Regions from separate parts of the Homo sapiens genome. Here region 2 is linked to region 1. The links are contacts of gene promoters, found by promoter capture Hi-C in blood cells and fetal thymus (Javierre and others, 2016). All regions are on one chromosome and are shown on one strand. The core of a region is centred on a gene start or on the middle of the fragment in contact, and the rest is flanking DNA. Distances in the headings are between cores, read along the strand shown. Region 1 holds the start of MB21D2 (Mab-21 domain containing 2). Region 2 overlaps FGF12 (fibroblast growth factor 12).

The links. The method cuts DNA at HindIII sites, captures the fragments that hold promoters and counts their contacts. A CHiCAGO score of 5 or more calls a contact.
Region 2: a contact is called between a fragment that was not itself captured here and the fragment with the promoter of MB21D2 in region 1, in 1 of 17 cell types (total B cells). The highest score is 5.2, in total B cells.

Annotation. Positions count from the first base shown.
Region 1 is chr3:192,914,580-192,922,446 of GRCh38, reverse strand. It overlaps MB21D2 (Mab-21 domain containing 2), which reads left to right and starts at 4,591. Exons shown (of 2, transcript NM_178496.4): 1 at 4,591-4,817. The coding sequence starts at 4,607. RefSeq lists a silencer at 4,286-4,645 and enhancers at 5,296-5,625, 7,253-7,753. The HindIII fragment of the contact is 3,892 bases long and covers 2,827-6,718 here.
Region 2 is chr3:192,468,949-192,476,815 of GRCh38, reverse strand. The region is part of intron 2 of FGF12 (fibroblast growth factor 12); the gene reads left to right. Among named protein-coding and RNA genes, the nearest start is that of FGF12-AS2, 42 kb to the left of the region's middle. The HindIII fragment of the contact is 1,970 bases long and covers 2,975-4,944 here.

The sequences.
Region 1 (7,867 bases), core at 3,342-5,841:
CCCATCTGGTAAATAAGGGGGGTAGATGGAATTTATCATCTAAGTTCCTTCTACTGTCAACATTCCACACGTCTGTGATGTTTGCCTCTCTTTTTCCTGCCTGCATTTCAAATCATAAAAAACCCAGGCCACTTCCATTTGTTAGACTTTTATTGAAAATCCAGCTGCCCAAGAAGGCCAGATCTTGTAGCCTAGGCTGCTATTTAAATCTCCCTCAGACCAGAGAATCTTTGTTTAAAATTATATTTTGTTAATCCATCATGTGGATGTGGAGCTTGCTATTTTTAATGCAGGCTCTGCACAGCCCAGTTATTCATGGCTGAGAGTTTGCCACAGAACTTCAGAGCTGTATTTAACAACAAACAGCTCCAGAGAAGCAAGATGAAGACTTCTTTCACATGCTAATAAAATTTGGGAGTTGGGAGTAGAAGGGCAAGTTCTACCTCTAAGTGTGACAGCAGTTTGGAAATGCAGGCTGTTACTCTGTTCTGTTTGATGCTGCAAGAGCCAGCAAAGGAAAAGCCTACCTTAGTGCTTGTTTAGATGGTAGACTCCACTGACCTTTGTCCATCTGTCAAAATTCTAGAGATATGCATTTTTATTCAAGCCTCAGACACTCTTTAACATCTTCTAATAATGATTTTCTCTCTCTCTCCACCTTCCTCTCTATCTCTCTTCCTTCTCTTAGGTCATATAACATACACAGGGAGAAAAAGGCATAAAAATTGGGGCATTTAATTAAATGCATGCAGAAATACTTACATTTATAACAACACTTAACTAAATACTGGGAAACCATAGATAGCTTACATTGAGATATTTAAATTGTAGCAAAAATCACCTAAATTCTGACTTCTTGGACTTTGAGGGATGGTATTAGTTCATTCTTTTTTATTATTATTTTTTCTGAGAAGGAGTCTCCCTCTGTTGCCCAGGCTGGAGTGCAGTGGTGCAACCTCGGCTCACCATAACTTCCACCTCCCGGGTTCAAGCGATTCTCCTGCCTCAGCCTCTCAACTAGCTGGGACTACAGGTGCATGCCACCATGCCTAGCTAATTTTTGAATTTTTAGTAGAGATGGGGTTTCACTATGTTGGCCAGGCTGGTCTTGAACTCCTGACCTTGTGATCTGCCCGCCTTGGCCTCCTAAAGTGCTGGGATTACAGGTGTGAGTCATCGTGCCCGGCTTCATTCATTCTTTTATATATTCATTTGAACATATAAACTAAGGTCATAAGATGGGTCAAGAACTAAATTAAATGCAGTGTTTACACAGGTGAAGAAACACAGTACTTGCCCTTGAGAAGCTCAGAGGTTAAAAAGTCTCCCAATAGATCAATTCAGGAAATTATGGTTTTTGATCGTTTTTCTCTATTCTTCTAATTCAACAAGGGATATTGACACAATCTTATCAGCGTTCTATTAGAGCCTAGGAAGGTGTTAGTTTACCATCCAATTACATTATCTGGATATGCGGGCTCACTGAGGGTCCATGATTCATAGAAATCTGATCTGGCTGACGGGAAGGAGAACAGACAATGAGGAACATCAGAGAGACCACTCACTCATTCAAACCCCCAGGGTCCAGCACTACGGCACAACAGGAATACTTTCTGCTAACAACCTGTTGTTTCTTTATGGATATAAATATCATAAGAAAAGGTAAAATTAAGGGAAGATTAGTGATGCCTCATTCATATGTTTGGAAATTAACAAATAAAAAGTGTTTCGATTTTGTTGTCTGAAGTATTTCTTAACTGTACATGGTTTGGAGGTAACTAGAACCATTCTGCTCTATGGAATGACTGCCTCAGCCAGCTGTCGCACAGGTGCCTGCCATTGATCACTAGTGAAGCACTGACAGATGGGAGTGGATCACTTTGTGCTGGAGTTCCAAACACTTATGTGGCTTCTAGTACTGCCCAGGTAATGTTAATATCCTCTCAGGATGAGAAGTCAGGGCAGCATAGCAGAGCTGCGAAAGCCAGAGCTTGCTTTGTTTGTTTGTTTGTTTGTTTGTTTGGAGATGGAGTCTCACTCTGTCACCCAGGGTGGAGTACAGTGGCGCGATCTCGGCTCACTGCAACTTCCGCCTCCTGGGTTCAAGCAATTCTCCTGCCTCAGCCTCCCAAGTAGCTGGGACTACAGGTGCACGCCGCCACAACTGGCTAATTTTTTGTATGTTTAGTAGAGATGGGATTTCATCGTGTTACCCAGGCTGGTCTCGAACTCCTGAGCTCAGGCAATCTGCCCGCCTCGGCCTCCAAAGTACTGGGATTAGAGGCGTGAACCACCACGCCCTGCCTAAAAACCAGAGTTTTTAAGTCACTTCCTCATCAGTCCACCAGCATTTATCTAGGCATGGATCCTCTCTCTTTCATACTGAGTGGGTGAGGAAGTGTGTTTCAAAGAGAAGGAAACGAAAAGTAAGAGAAATTAACTGGTTATGCCACAATTCTTCACTCATTACTTGATTCAATAAACATAGAGGACCCTTCGGTAGGACCATATGCTGCAGGAAATACAAAGATGAATAAGATGTAGCCCTCATCCCCAAGAATCTTTTAGTCTAAAACTTGCATTAACAATGATGAAGTGGTCAGGTGTGGTGGCTCACGCCTGTAATCCCTTTGAGAGATCTAGATGCAAGGACTGTTTAATCCCAGGAGGTTGAGGTTGCTGTGAGCCACGATTGTGCCACTGCACTCTGGCCTGGGCTACAGAGGAAGACCCTGTTTCAGAAACAAACAAACACACACACACACAACCCAAAACAAAAAGCAATGATGAAGCAAGGTCAAAATTCATTAGCATCATATGAAAGCTTCTGAGAGTAGGTTCTGAGGAAGGAAAAGTTGCCACCAGCTTGAGGGGAGGGTCTCCGGAAAGCTGTAAGAAAAAGGCAGACGCGGATTGGTTTTGGTGTAAACGGAGTAAAGAAGAGAGGAATTCCAGGGGGAGGTCAGTGGTCAGGTCTGTGTTTTCTAAAGATCACTCTGGCAACAAGTTGTTACTAGATTGAGGAACAGTGAAAGAATTAATAACAATAATAGTAGAAGCTGATAATAGCTAAGTACTTATTATGTCAGTCCTTGAACTAAGTGCTTGACCTGTTTTATCTCACGTAATCCTTAAAACAACCTGTGAGACAGGAATTATTATTCCCATTTTATAGGGGAAGGCATGGAAGAGTCCGTACTTCCTTCCATGTCTAACAAAACAATTTGTATTCTTGGCCATGAGAACTCGGGTAAGAAAGTGAAACAGACCTGATCTAAATCAGGGACTGTGGGATAGAGAAGAGAGATTTTGGAGAATTAGGGAGGAAGATAACCTATGTTTCTCACAGCCAATGGGCCTCCTAAGTGTTTGAATGATACACCCCATAAACACTAAAACCACCTCTGAGACTCTATTCTGCCTAAAGGACTATGACTTAGATTGAACCTGCCTTGTCATGTAAGCCTAACTCCATGGTAGGAGCCATGTCTTTTGGTTATCACTGTCACATTCTGTCACTCCATCTGGCAAATGGTGCGTACTCAAATTTTATCTGTTGAATGAGAAAATTTTCATCTTGTCATCCAACATTTCTTGGAACCTGGGGCAATACATTGTTTCCCCTCTCCCACACCCACACTTCAGTTTCCCTATCTTTATATTAGAGTAGGTTGAATCTCATTAACTCATTATATGTTAAGATAAATAAGCTGTTATTCAGGTCATTAATTACCTTGGGCAAAGGTAGGGATATCTAGGGGTTAGTGGGAGTGCCAATACTGGGTTAGATGTGGACCCTCTTTTTTTATACGCTCAATCCTATCATCTTGGCAATCCAAGAGGAAAAGGGTAGAAGACAGGTTTCATATTCCTTAAGGCAGTTTCCTTTACTATTTAAAGGTATTGGAGTTCTTGGGATAGAGAGGTAAACGCGCACAGAGATGTCCTCCCCCAGGACACCGCCCTTAAAATCAAACGGAGGAAGACTTTCTTCTCCTTGAATGCGCTTGGCAAACCCTGCCCAGAAAGGGGATGGGGGGACGGCCGTGGAGGTGGAGAAAGAATGCATCCACACCTCGCGCGTCTTCCCAAGTACGGATTGGCAAGTGGTATATGCGTGCAGACCTCTGTCATTTATTTATTTTCCTTTCCACTGGGTGCGCTGTCCCTTTAAATGGAGACGCTGGTGCTGGCTCCGTAACACCGGAGCCGGCAGCTTGTTGATTTCAGAGCTGGTGAATTTCACATTGTTTCCACTTCACTTTCCTCGCCCGGGGGAGGCTCCAGTTGGCTCTACGACCGCCGTTGCCGCTGCCAGAGAGGGCCAGGGCAGGGCAGGGACGCGCAGCATCGGGGCGGGCGTGGGGCCGGAGAAAAGGGTGTCGGGGCCACACACGCACCCTCGCTGCAGTCCAGCTCCTCCCGAAGCTCGCACGCCCAGAGCGCACGGAGCGGGGGACTGCCCGCCCAGACGCCCGCCCGCCAACCCGCCCACGAGCCGGGGCCAAAGCCTGGGAGCCTGCGAGGGGAGGAGGCCCAGGGGGGCGGGGTGGGGGGCGGGGGTGGGTGCCGCGCTGCCGCGGAGCTGCTACTCGGCGCGTTTTGCATGAAGATGGCGGCTCCCACCGCCAACAAGGCAGCCTCCCTGGGCTGTAACAACAAGCCTGCGTTCCCGGAGCTGGATTTCAGGTCGGGAGCTCGGGTGGAGGAATTGAACAAACTCATCCAAGAATTTACGAAGCACGACCAGCGGGAATACGACGACCAGAGAGCGCTGGAGATTCACACAGCCAAGGATTTCATCTTTTCCATGCTGGGTAAGGAGGAAAAAGGGGGAGGTGTGTGTGCGTGTGTGTGTGTGATGGGAAGCGGAGTAGAAAACCCATTGCCGCTTCTCGACCTCTTCCCTTCTGGGTTGCCTTCCCGAGCCGGTGCCTTGGGTATAAGCCATCTCTGTTCCGCCTCTCTCTTCTTTCTCCGCCGAAAGCCGAGCTGCCTGCCCTCCCCTCCTTACTATACTTTACGCCGGGTCTCCCTTTCCCCCTGTTCGCTTGCTCTTTTGTTAATTTCTCCGCCACCTGGGGCTGGCAGGCAGGTGAGGCGTTCGCGGTGAAGCGTTGCACTGTTGGGGGAAGCCCCTGGAAGCGAGTGCAGTCCAGGTGAGCCCCTGAGGTGCCTTCAGTTGAGGGATTTGGCTGCCGGAGGCAGGGACCTCCGCTTTCCCGACGCCGGCTCTTGGGTGCTCTCCCGAGCTTGGGAGCGGAGACGGCTCAGGGCTCTGGCTTGGCGCCCGAGCGACAAGTTGCTTCTGTCGTCTCGCGGCGCGGCGCTGTCATGCCGAGCCCCCGGTGGCCAAACTTGTTGGGTGTTCCCGAGTAACCCGCTGAAGTAGTCTAGGCGTCCGGAGTTCCTGCAACTTTGATTTGCAAATTGACTTCTCTTATGAAGCGATCGGAAGCATTTCCGGTGCTTCTTCAGGGCTCTCGCTGAGCTCGGAATTCTTAATTCCCAGCTCTTCCGTGACTAGGCGCGGAGCTCTGGCCGCAGAGGAGCGCCGGTTCCCTGCTCTTTGTGTATTGTCTTAGCGCTGGCCGAAAGAGGTGCCCAGAGTTTCCAACCGCGGAGACGTCGGGGGCTAGAAAATGTGTCCCCCACTCCCACCTCCAGCCCCTCACCTACGGCTCCTGAAACATGATTGAATGCTGTGTAAAGGAACATAATTGAGCCAGGCCCGGGAGACCGAGCCCACCCTCCCCAGGTGTCCTGCCGTTGGGATTATTGCTACTGAGGTGTAGTGTGAGTTTGCCAGGCGCCTGGGTTGTAACTTGCGGCTCCGCCAGCGGATCCGTGGCTGTCAAGCGGTGCGTGGCCGGCGGTCAACATTCCGAAGAACTGGTACTCCAGGGTAGCGCTGCTCTAACGCTCGTCTCTGGGTGCTCTCTACAAATAGATAAGCCAATTTTCCAGGTGTTGAAAAATTTGATTGGGAAAGGTCTTTTGGCCACAGACTAAGACAGGGCTTTTCTCTTTCTCCTGCAATCTAATTGGGTTTCAGCCGGCTGTTGCTGCTTCTATCCTGGGATACCTTCTTCCTTCTAGGTTTTCTTCTTCCTCACTGCCCAAGGACGGGGTAATACAGACTGAACGTGTCTGTGTCCGCTGGTAGTTGTTCACGCGTTGGGAAGTTAGATGAAACATGTTAAAACTCTAGGCTGGTTTTTACCTTTTGCGCCGCACTCTTCAAGTGTGTCTTACGTTGCGTATGAGGTTGAAAAACTATTGAGAGATTCAGCCGTTCAACTATGTAGATGAATAGATGAATTAAATATATATATATATATATATATAAAACCTGGTAGGAGTGAGCTTCCACAGGGAAGCCTAAAATGCTTACAAAGCCAAAAGCCAACACAGTGATTGTCAGGAAGGTGGGGCCACACACAGAAGGCTGAGCGCAGTTACTTAAGTTGTTTAGTTAATCATAGCCTTTCTCTGTGGCATAAATAATGGAAGTCTGCCATTGTGTTAATACAGCCCCCAGATCAGTTCTGATGTCACTTGCGTAGGTCATTTACTAGAAGAAGGTACTGGGTCACCACCAGTTAGGGTAGTCATGGGTCAGGAAATGGGATAATGTAGGGAGGGTAAATTTAAGTGCCTGGCTCATGAGGAACTTCTGTGCTTAACTCCAAAGCTGATACACTGAATCAGCAAAGCTTTTATCCAAATATAAAAAAGTAAATTATTCTAGGGTGCTTAATTTTTGCATGTGTTTAATGCCATGGGTGGCATTGTGTTGACAGGTAAACTAGATTTGCTTCTATTCCTTTTTACCCAGTTGACCTTGCAAGCAGTCTTTCTTGCCCCCTGGGAATTTAGCATTTCCACCTGCAGGAGAGAAGATTCAAGAGAGTGTCATTTAAGCCTTTTGCCCCTCTGGACACTAGAAGGCAGATGGCGAAATGAGCTTGCTTGCCTGTGTGTGGTGCTGCATTCATTTGCGAGTTCCTTGCTTTCCTTTAATGAGATGCTGGCTGCTCTACACAAGTGGAGGTTTGGCGACAGCAAGGGTTCCTATGTGGATTTACTTTTTCTAAAGCAGATTTTGGCTTGGCTTAAAGAACAAAATCATTTTTTTTATACACTTTGTTTCACTTGCCATAGCTTTGGTTCTTTGATGACTATGCAAATGAAGTCTCTTAATGACCCCTAGCTTGTTAAGGTGTTACTTGGGTGGTACCAGGCCCTCATTTCAGGGCGGGGGGGTGGAGGGTGGCCAGTCCTCTTGGCTTTGTTCTGTATCTGAGCTGCACCTGGGGATTGTTAGCAGCTTACAGATATTATCCCCTCACACAGAATGAAGTGGCCAACCACGAATTGGGTGCAAGCCTCTTTAGTGGAGCTGAGAAAAATACTGCCTCATGTTTCAGGCAGTTGGCAGGGGTGAGGCATGTTACTCTCTTTTTGTGTAAGATTGTTAGCCAAGTCTGAAGCCCCTCCAGCTTCACAGATCCTTTTCATTTTGTCTAGTTTGGAGGAATTTTACACTGAAGAGCAAGGAGGTGGTAGACAGCTGTCATAATCAATGACCTGTCAACACCAAGACACTCCACTGTCTTATCAAAGTAGGGTTCTGCACAGGCTGTGGGGTTGATCTGAGCTTGCTGGTGGTCACTGTGGTCTCTGGGGTCTGTCCTGATGCTCTCTGTTTGTACAGAGATTCTGATTTTTTTTTGGAGGCAGGTGTTAGCTGCAATTGTCTAGATTCACTTCTTATTCCTCTGTACCTTGGTCTTTTAGGAGAATGATTGGTGTTATTATCTAGTTAATATTTGAGAGCCCAGACTGTGCGAAAGGCTGGCAGTGC
Region 2 (7,867 bases), core at 2,710-5,209, 440 kb after region 1:
TAAAGATCATCCAAACTCATTTACAATTTGGCTATAATCAGTCTTTCTTTACTCCCACTAGTGTCCTCCAGACAACCTTTCTTCTAGCAAAACTAGACTGCTAGGTACTTCTCTGATCCTCAGTGTCTGACTTCAGGGAAGCCATTTTGCTTCTTTGTTCTCAGATCCCAAAGTTTGAGCTTCTTTCCTGCAATTTTGCATTATGTTGTATTTGTGGAGGTAATTCCATGAAAAGTCACAGTGGGGATTAATACCAACAAAATAAACAGGGGGCATATTACAGATGGCTGTGAGGCTGTTGGACTTAATGCCATTGATCAATTCATTCATTAATTATTTATCAAGTACTTCCCATATGTTGTGGTAAAATGATGAGTAATTCATCAGGGTTAATGTAGAGTGGTGGTGGGAGTCAGGCTTTAGACTCAAACAATTGGGATTCACATTTAGATTCTGCCACTTTTTTGTTAGAGACCTCTGGGCTTCATTTTTTTTTCATCTGTAAACAAAAATAACAATATTTTCCTCATAGGTAAGAACTAAATGGTAGTCACTGGGCAGAATCATTTAGGTAAATGGATGCAGAAAAAAGTTTCAAGATTGTAGCTATGATTATTTTTATGTTGTCCTGCCCTTTAAAATATAGAGCTCACATGTGATCTCTGAAGCCAATGTTTAGGCCATGTATGGAAAGTCTTTCGGGTGTCATCTCACCTGGAGCTGCAGGTGATCTCTTGGGGATCACGTTATTCTATTTTATGCTGTTTGATGATGGTTTGGGAAGTTCATAGATTGTTACATTCTTTGCTGAGTGGGCTAGGCTATTTTTCAGAAATATTTTATATATCTGCCTATCATTATCTATCTATCTATCTATCATCTATCTATATCATCTATCATCTATATCTACCATCTATCTATTATCTATCTATCATCTATCTGATCTATAATGATTTTAGGCTTCAAGTGGTGGACTTCTGGAAGGAAATTTTCTGACTATTAGGTCGGAATCGTATTTCAGACACATAGAAGTTGTGTTCGGTCCCTGTGAATTTCCCTATCACGAGAACAGCTTTTGCACTGACGTGTAATCCTTTCATTTCTTTGTCATTTAAAAATTATGATATGAGAAGATTTGGTCTAGAAAACATGGGCCTCTCCTGAAATACTGGAATCCATAATCACTTAAAGCACTCTGGCTTTTTCTGTTTGGCTTAGCTTTACAACTTTCCCATCAGTGGGTAGAAACATCTTTGAATTTGTGCTTTCCTTGTATTTTCTGTATTTATTTCAGTATTTCTGGAAAAATAATTCTTGGACCAAGCTGGTATTTCCAGTCATCTAAGGCTTGCAACCTTGTGCATCATGCTCTCTCATGCCCTTCACTGGCACCTACATTAGTTGTATGTTTTGTGTGCATGTCACTTTTCTGTGTCCCAGTCATTCCGTTTATAGATTAAGGGGGAAAGGTCTTCCTTGGATATGGGCGGAAGCTCTGGAAAGGCTCAGGAACAACCTATCCTTAATCCTTACTAATTTAGAGCTAGAATGGACCACTGATTAGGGTTACCTGGCGTGCTTTCAAGAGCATCATCATTCTTTACAACCCAACTTGCTGAATTGGATCAATGTAATATTTGTTCTGTTTTGATTTATAAACTAATGGTTGAAAGCTACTTTAATTCAAATTATATTCAATAGTACTTGAGATACAGAAACTCAATTTTAATTTACTTAAGCAAAGAAGGAATTGTTAGAAGGATACCAGGATTGCTCACAGAAAGAAGAGCTACATTAATGAGGTAGATATGGGATTTCAAGAACTAGGCAAAAGACTCAAGAGCCCACAGAACATTCTGTTAATTCTCCTACTCTCTTTGTGGGCTTTGTTTTGTTTTTCTTTTTCCTTTCTTTCTTTTTTTTTTTTTTTGAGATGAAGTTTCACTCTTGTTTCCCAGTCTAGAGTACAATGGCACGATCTCAGCTTACTGCAACCTCTACCTCCCGGGTTCAAGCAATTCTCCTGCTTCAGCCTCCCAAATACCTGGGACTACAGGGACACATCACCACACCTGGCTAATTTTGTGTTTTTAGTAGAGACAGGGTTTCACCATGTTGGCCAGGCTGGTCTCGAACTCCTGACCTCAGGTGATCCACCCACCTTGGCCTCCCAAAGTGTTGAGATTACAGGCCTGAGCCACCGTACCTGGCCTTCCTTTTTCTTTATACCTTTTGGGCATGGCTGCAGTTTACTACATCTGTGAACCCAACAAAAAAGGTAGCAGTTTTCTCCAACCACTTCAGTATATGGAAATTCAAGGAAGGACTCTATCATCCTAGATTATGTTCCTATCCAAGCACCAATCACTGTGACAGAGAAAATGAGGTGCTATAATTGGCCAAATCTGGGTTATGTGCTTAAACTTGTGGTCTGGGAAGCCAGTGTCCTATGATTAAAAGCCTTAGAAGAATTACTTGCCCCTAAAATGAGATGAGTGTTGTTCCTGGAAGTAGAGGAAGAAATTCTGAACTGACAAAAACAACAGATGTCCAATACACAAAGGAGAACTAATTTTTAAAGTTTTAATTTCTACATCGTTAAACACAACCTGTTTTACTTTATTGCAATTATATTAATTCAAAATATTTATTTAGAACCTTTTAATGTGCCAAACTATAAAAAGGCAATATGATATCATTCTTATCCTTAAATTAAAATAAAATCAGTCTTCAATAATTTGCCCTATGCATAAGGTTTTCTTCTGTGTTCTGTGTGAAGACCAACTATAAAGCTGAGTGGCTTACAATAAATATTTAATTCATGCTCACACACCATGAGCGCTTCAGGGCATGAGTCTAGGTGAGTGTAGTTCTGCTCTATGTTTCTTTGCATTGTGGAACCTTTACTGAAAGAGCAACAACCCCTGTCTGGAGACATGATATTCTCATGGTGGAGGGCAAGAACAGAAAAGCTTCAGCCATCCACACAGTTACACTAAAGGCTTCTGTTTAATCATGGCAAATGTCTGCTCACCGTTCTTTTGGTCACACGGCCAGTGCATATCACATGGTGGCCAAGCGCAGAATCAATGAGGTGGGAATGTGGTTCTTTCCCAGAGAATGTATGACAAGTCATTTGACAATAAATAGAGATGTATAATCCTGTTTTAGAGAGGAAACATGATTCAGGACAGTAACCCAAAATACTACACTTACAAAGTAATATTGAATTTTCACTAATTCATTTCTTAAGTGTTTCAGAAATGACATATTGGTATATAAGTAATAATTACCATGAGTTTTCTTTCACGTAGATAGAAATTAGATAGAGTGTAACCAGCTAAATAATATTTCTGTATTTCATTTCCTGGATTCACCAGCCATGTATACAGCCTTTAATGACCACTATGCCTTTAGTTACCCCATAATAACCATCAACTCATGATAAGGGATGGCAAGTAATGTCATCTGGTCTAGAAAACTTGTTGGAAGTAGGCATGGGAATAAATTAGTGAAAGCACAAGGAAATCAGTGTGTCAGCCATTCTGAAGGTTAGGTCAAACTTCTGCAGCTTGAGGGGTGAGGTGTGGTTGATAATTTTAAGTTACAATTGGCTCCAAAACATACCTTGTATCTTGTATTTCCTGTTTCAATCAAACATTTTTCCATAAATTGAACACAACCTAAGAGTTAGAATTACAAAGATGAGTAAACTCATAGGCTCTGAACTGAAAGAAATCACAGTGAGTAAAAACATGTCAATTGTAGAAGTTTTTTCAAGTACAGAAACGGCATTAAAGAGAAAATGGCTAAATCTTTCTGGAGCCTGCCATGAAGGAGAGAGACATAGGGAGAGACTTCTCAGAACAGGTGATACTTGAACAGAATTTTGAATAATGGGATAGGAATTATTTAGGTAGAAATTACATTTGTACTTCTCAATACCAAGTAAAGAGAATAGCAAGTACAAACTCGAAATCATGGAGACACAGGCTTTGTGTTTTTGTCTTTAACACCCCTGGTAGGAACGAAGGGCAAGTAGTGGGAGGAGGTGAGGAGACAGGGCTGAGGAGCCCAGCAGGGAGAGCAAGAGAATTAGAGAAAATGAGACATCCCTCTTCCTGGAGCAGAGTGTGAATGACTCTCTCCCTTCCTACTCTTCATTCCTCTGTGGAATAGCTGGATGCTGTTCATGAGTTTTAGCTTATTAGCCTTTTGGGAATTTCCAGGGTGTTGTGAGTCTTTGGAGGCCCTGGAATGTGGGCTTTGGGGGAACCTTTGGACTCTAGCAGAAGACAGAAATCAGAGGGAGAAAAAGCCAGGTGACAGTATGGAGTGTCATCCAGGTACCATGTGGAAGTGACAGTGTTAGGAAAGGAAATGTTAAGTTTCATTCCAAGTATCTGAACCTACACTGGTGTAGCTGGACTGGATGACCGGAGAGGCCTGACCCAATACGGACAATAAGGGAGTGTGGTGTCTACAGATTTAAAAATATTAGGCTGGGTGCGGTGGCTTATGCCTGTAATCCCAGTACTTTGGGAGGCCGCGGCGGGCAGATCCCGAGGTCAGGAGATCAAGACCATCCTGGCCAACATGGTGAAACCCCGTCTCTACTAAAAATGCATAAAATTAGCCGGGCGTGGTGGCAGGCGCCTGTAGTCCCAGCTACTCAGGAGGCTGAGGCAGGAGAATTGCTTGAACCCGAGAGGCAGAGGTTGCAGTGAGCCGAGATCACACCGCTGCACTCCAGTCTGGTGACAGAGCGAGACTCCATCTCAAAACACAAACAACAACAAAAACAAAATTAATAAAGTGAAATACAATCTATAGGCTTTTTTTGTTTTAATCAGCATGTGCAGGTACTTGATAACATACTCTTCCCCTTAAAAATCTTCTGTTGCAGTTGCTTACAGTTGAGTTTTTAGAATAAATATGTAAGCTTGAAATTCTCACATTTTAAAATCATGTATCCTTGAACACACTGTATTCTATCTATATGAAAGCTAATTTAGAGACTTCCCAGTTCCACAGTCGGTCCTCAATACATGCAAACTCAGCTACACATGTTCATTTTGAGCATAAATTAGCCATGGCTCAGAATATCCCAGCTCACTTTGAGAGCAGCTTATATCTATCAATTCCTGGATTTAAATAGTAGATTTGAAATCAACAATAATAACACAGTTTGTGAAGATGAAGAAGTAATTTGAGTTACTTCAATTCTGTGACCACTTGAAGAGCTTTTGTGCCTAGCATTTAAATCAGTGAAATAAAATATGAACCATGGTATACAATTTTTCCCTTTTCTAAAAAGTATATGAATGTAATTGTTTTATTTCTTCTCATTACATTATTTTTATTTTACTGCTGGTTTCATTATATATAGAATTGAATAAACACTTTTTCACTGTTTGCAAATTTCTCTATTAGTATTATGATTACAAATAATTTTGTTGCATATAGGAGAGAAATGTTAAAAAGTAATTTTTTTCTGGTGTCATATGTAGTAATTATACCACTGCTTGGCTCCTAAAGCTAAGAATAGAAATAGGGACTCAGAGAAAGCTCTGTTCCCGGGCTGAAAACTGCATCTGAATAAAACATTCCCAAGAAGTACATGTCTGCAACCTGAGCGAGTATGATGTTTATGGAGCATCTAATCCTTGCCAGGCACCGTTCCTAGTACTGGTAACATCACAATGAACAGGCCTTGAAGAGCCATACATTCTAGTGGGGAGAGAGTGAAAGTCATCATGTAAAGTAAAATACTTTAAATGAAACAACCAATGAAATAAAACTGCACTGGGGATAATAAAGGGTGGAGGAGAGGTAATTTCAATAGGTGGTCAGGCAAGATGTCTGGGGAAGTGCCATTTGATGAGAAGCCGGAGGTGTGAAACTGTGGAGGAGGAAGAGTGAAGACAGAAGGGTCAGCCGCAGCACAAGCCCAAGGAGGTCATGCTTCATTTGTCCAGAAGATGGAGAAAGGGCTACAGTGACTGGCGTAAAATGAACATGGAGAATGAAGAGATTAGTTTTCCCTTGTGGGAGAAAAAGCCCAAGGAATAACTGACGTACCCTGATAATGATGAATGTTCACGACAGTTATCAAACTCCGTTACTAGGCCGGGTGTGGGGGCTCATGCCTGTGATACCAGCACTTCAGGAGGCCGAGGCAGGAGGATCACTTGAGGTCAGGAGTTCGAGACCAGCCTGGCCAACGTGATGAAACCCCATCTCTACTAAAAATACAAAAATTAGCTAGGTGTGGTGGCGGTCAACTTTAATCCCAGATATTCGGGGGGCCGAGGCAGGAGAATCACTTGAACCTGGGAGGCAGAGGTTGCGGTGAGCCAAGATTGTGCCATTGCACTACAGCCTAGGCAGACAGAGTGAGAACCTGTCTCAACAACTACAACAACAACAACAACAACAACAAAGTTCCATTACTAAAACAAGATATTTAATAGAGCCAATGTTGGATTTTCAAAGCATTGTAATGCATTTAGATTGTTCTCGCATGTCGTTTTGAATTAAAATATCTTCAGTGCTGAATTTTTTAAAAAAACCTCTTACCCTTTAGCTTCTGGAGGCCTTGAATGACAATAAATTTAATATGAGTAAAAAAATTGTTTTTAAGTTAAAGACTGATCTTATTATTGGCCTTTGATGATTTCATTGACTTCTTACACATTGCCTACTTTGATTTTTACCTCCAGAGAGGACATTGGAATTAGTTACACTCTCCAGCGCATCACACATCATTATCTTGGTTCAGTGAAAATGCATTTCTCTTATTTTGTCATACTCTTTCCCTTTATATCCAGTTCCATTCCCCTTCCCATCATGATATGCAGAATCTGATATGTGCCAAATATACACACATAGCTTTGTAAAACAGATAATTTTTATGTAGGCGTGTGTTTTAAATTTACATAAGTGGTATTATTATTGATCTCCTGACTCTTCATTCAACACTGTTTTTGAAGTCTATCCAGGTTCAGTTTATTGCACAGTGCCCACTTTTTATATCCATTACCTTTTATGTTTCCATCCCCCAGTGATGGACACCTAGGTTGCCTTCAGTTTCCACAACTACAAACATTGTGGGGACGGTTATTACACACATTCCTTTATAGACCTTGGGTAAATAGCACAGAACAGATTCTCTGGGTCATAAAACATAGAGCTACTTAATTTCACTTAGCCTAATTTAGATCTTACACAATTCTACTTAGTTTGGTAAACATACACACTTTTGTGTTGGCTGAGTAGGTTATTGTGGAGGACAAGCTCTGCTATTGATTGTCCTCTGGGAGCCAGGTTTCTCATCTTTTGAGAAAAAGTTACAGGTAAAGAAGGAAGGCTATCATGAGCCCTCTGGTATTTGATTGGATTTACAGGTATTAGTAGGAATTCATAGTATTTAATAGATAGACATACAGAGAGAAATACAGGTGTGTACATGCAGGTGTTAGCAAATGTACATTTATTTCCTAGATCTATTGGCTGAGAGGGTGTAGAAACAGAGGCACTCTGTTTATAATGAACACACTTAGCAACCAGATCTAAGTTTCATTTCTAAATTGCATTCTTTCATAAAAAGAGCCAGGACACCTTAGAGAAGTGCTAGATTGCAGCGCTGGGGAAGGGAAAATGTCAGATGAGCCTGGAGCATCTTGTGATACTAAAAAATGAGGACGTGCTTAAACAGGTATGAGGACTTGTCAAAAGAACACAGGAGCCTACCTAAAGGCTCTCGATATCCAAATCTGGAACAATTTGAGCATGAACATAATGGTAGTATTAGATTTTAATCCACGGGATAAAAGAAATAGCCGTGAATCTATACTGGTATAAATAA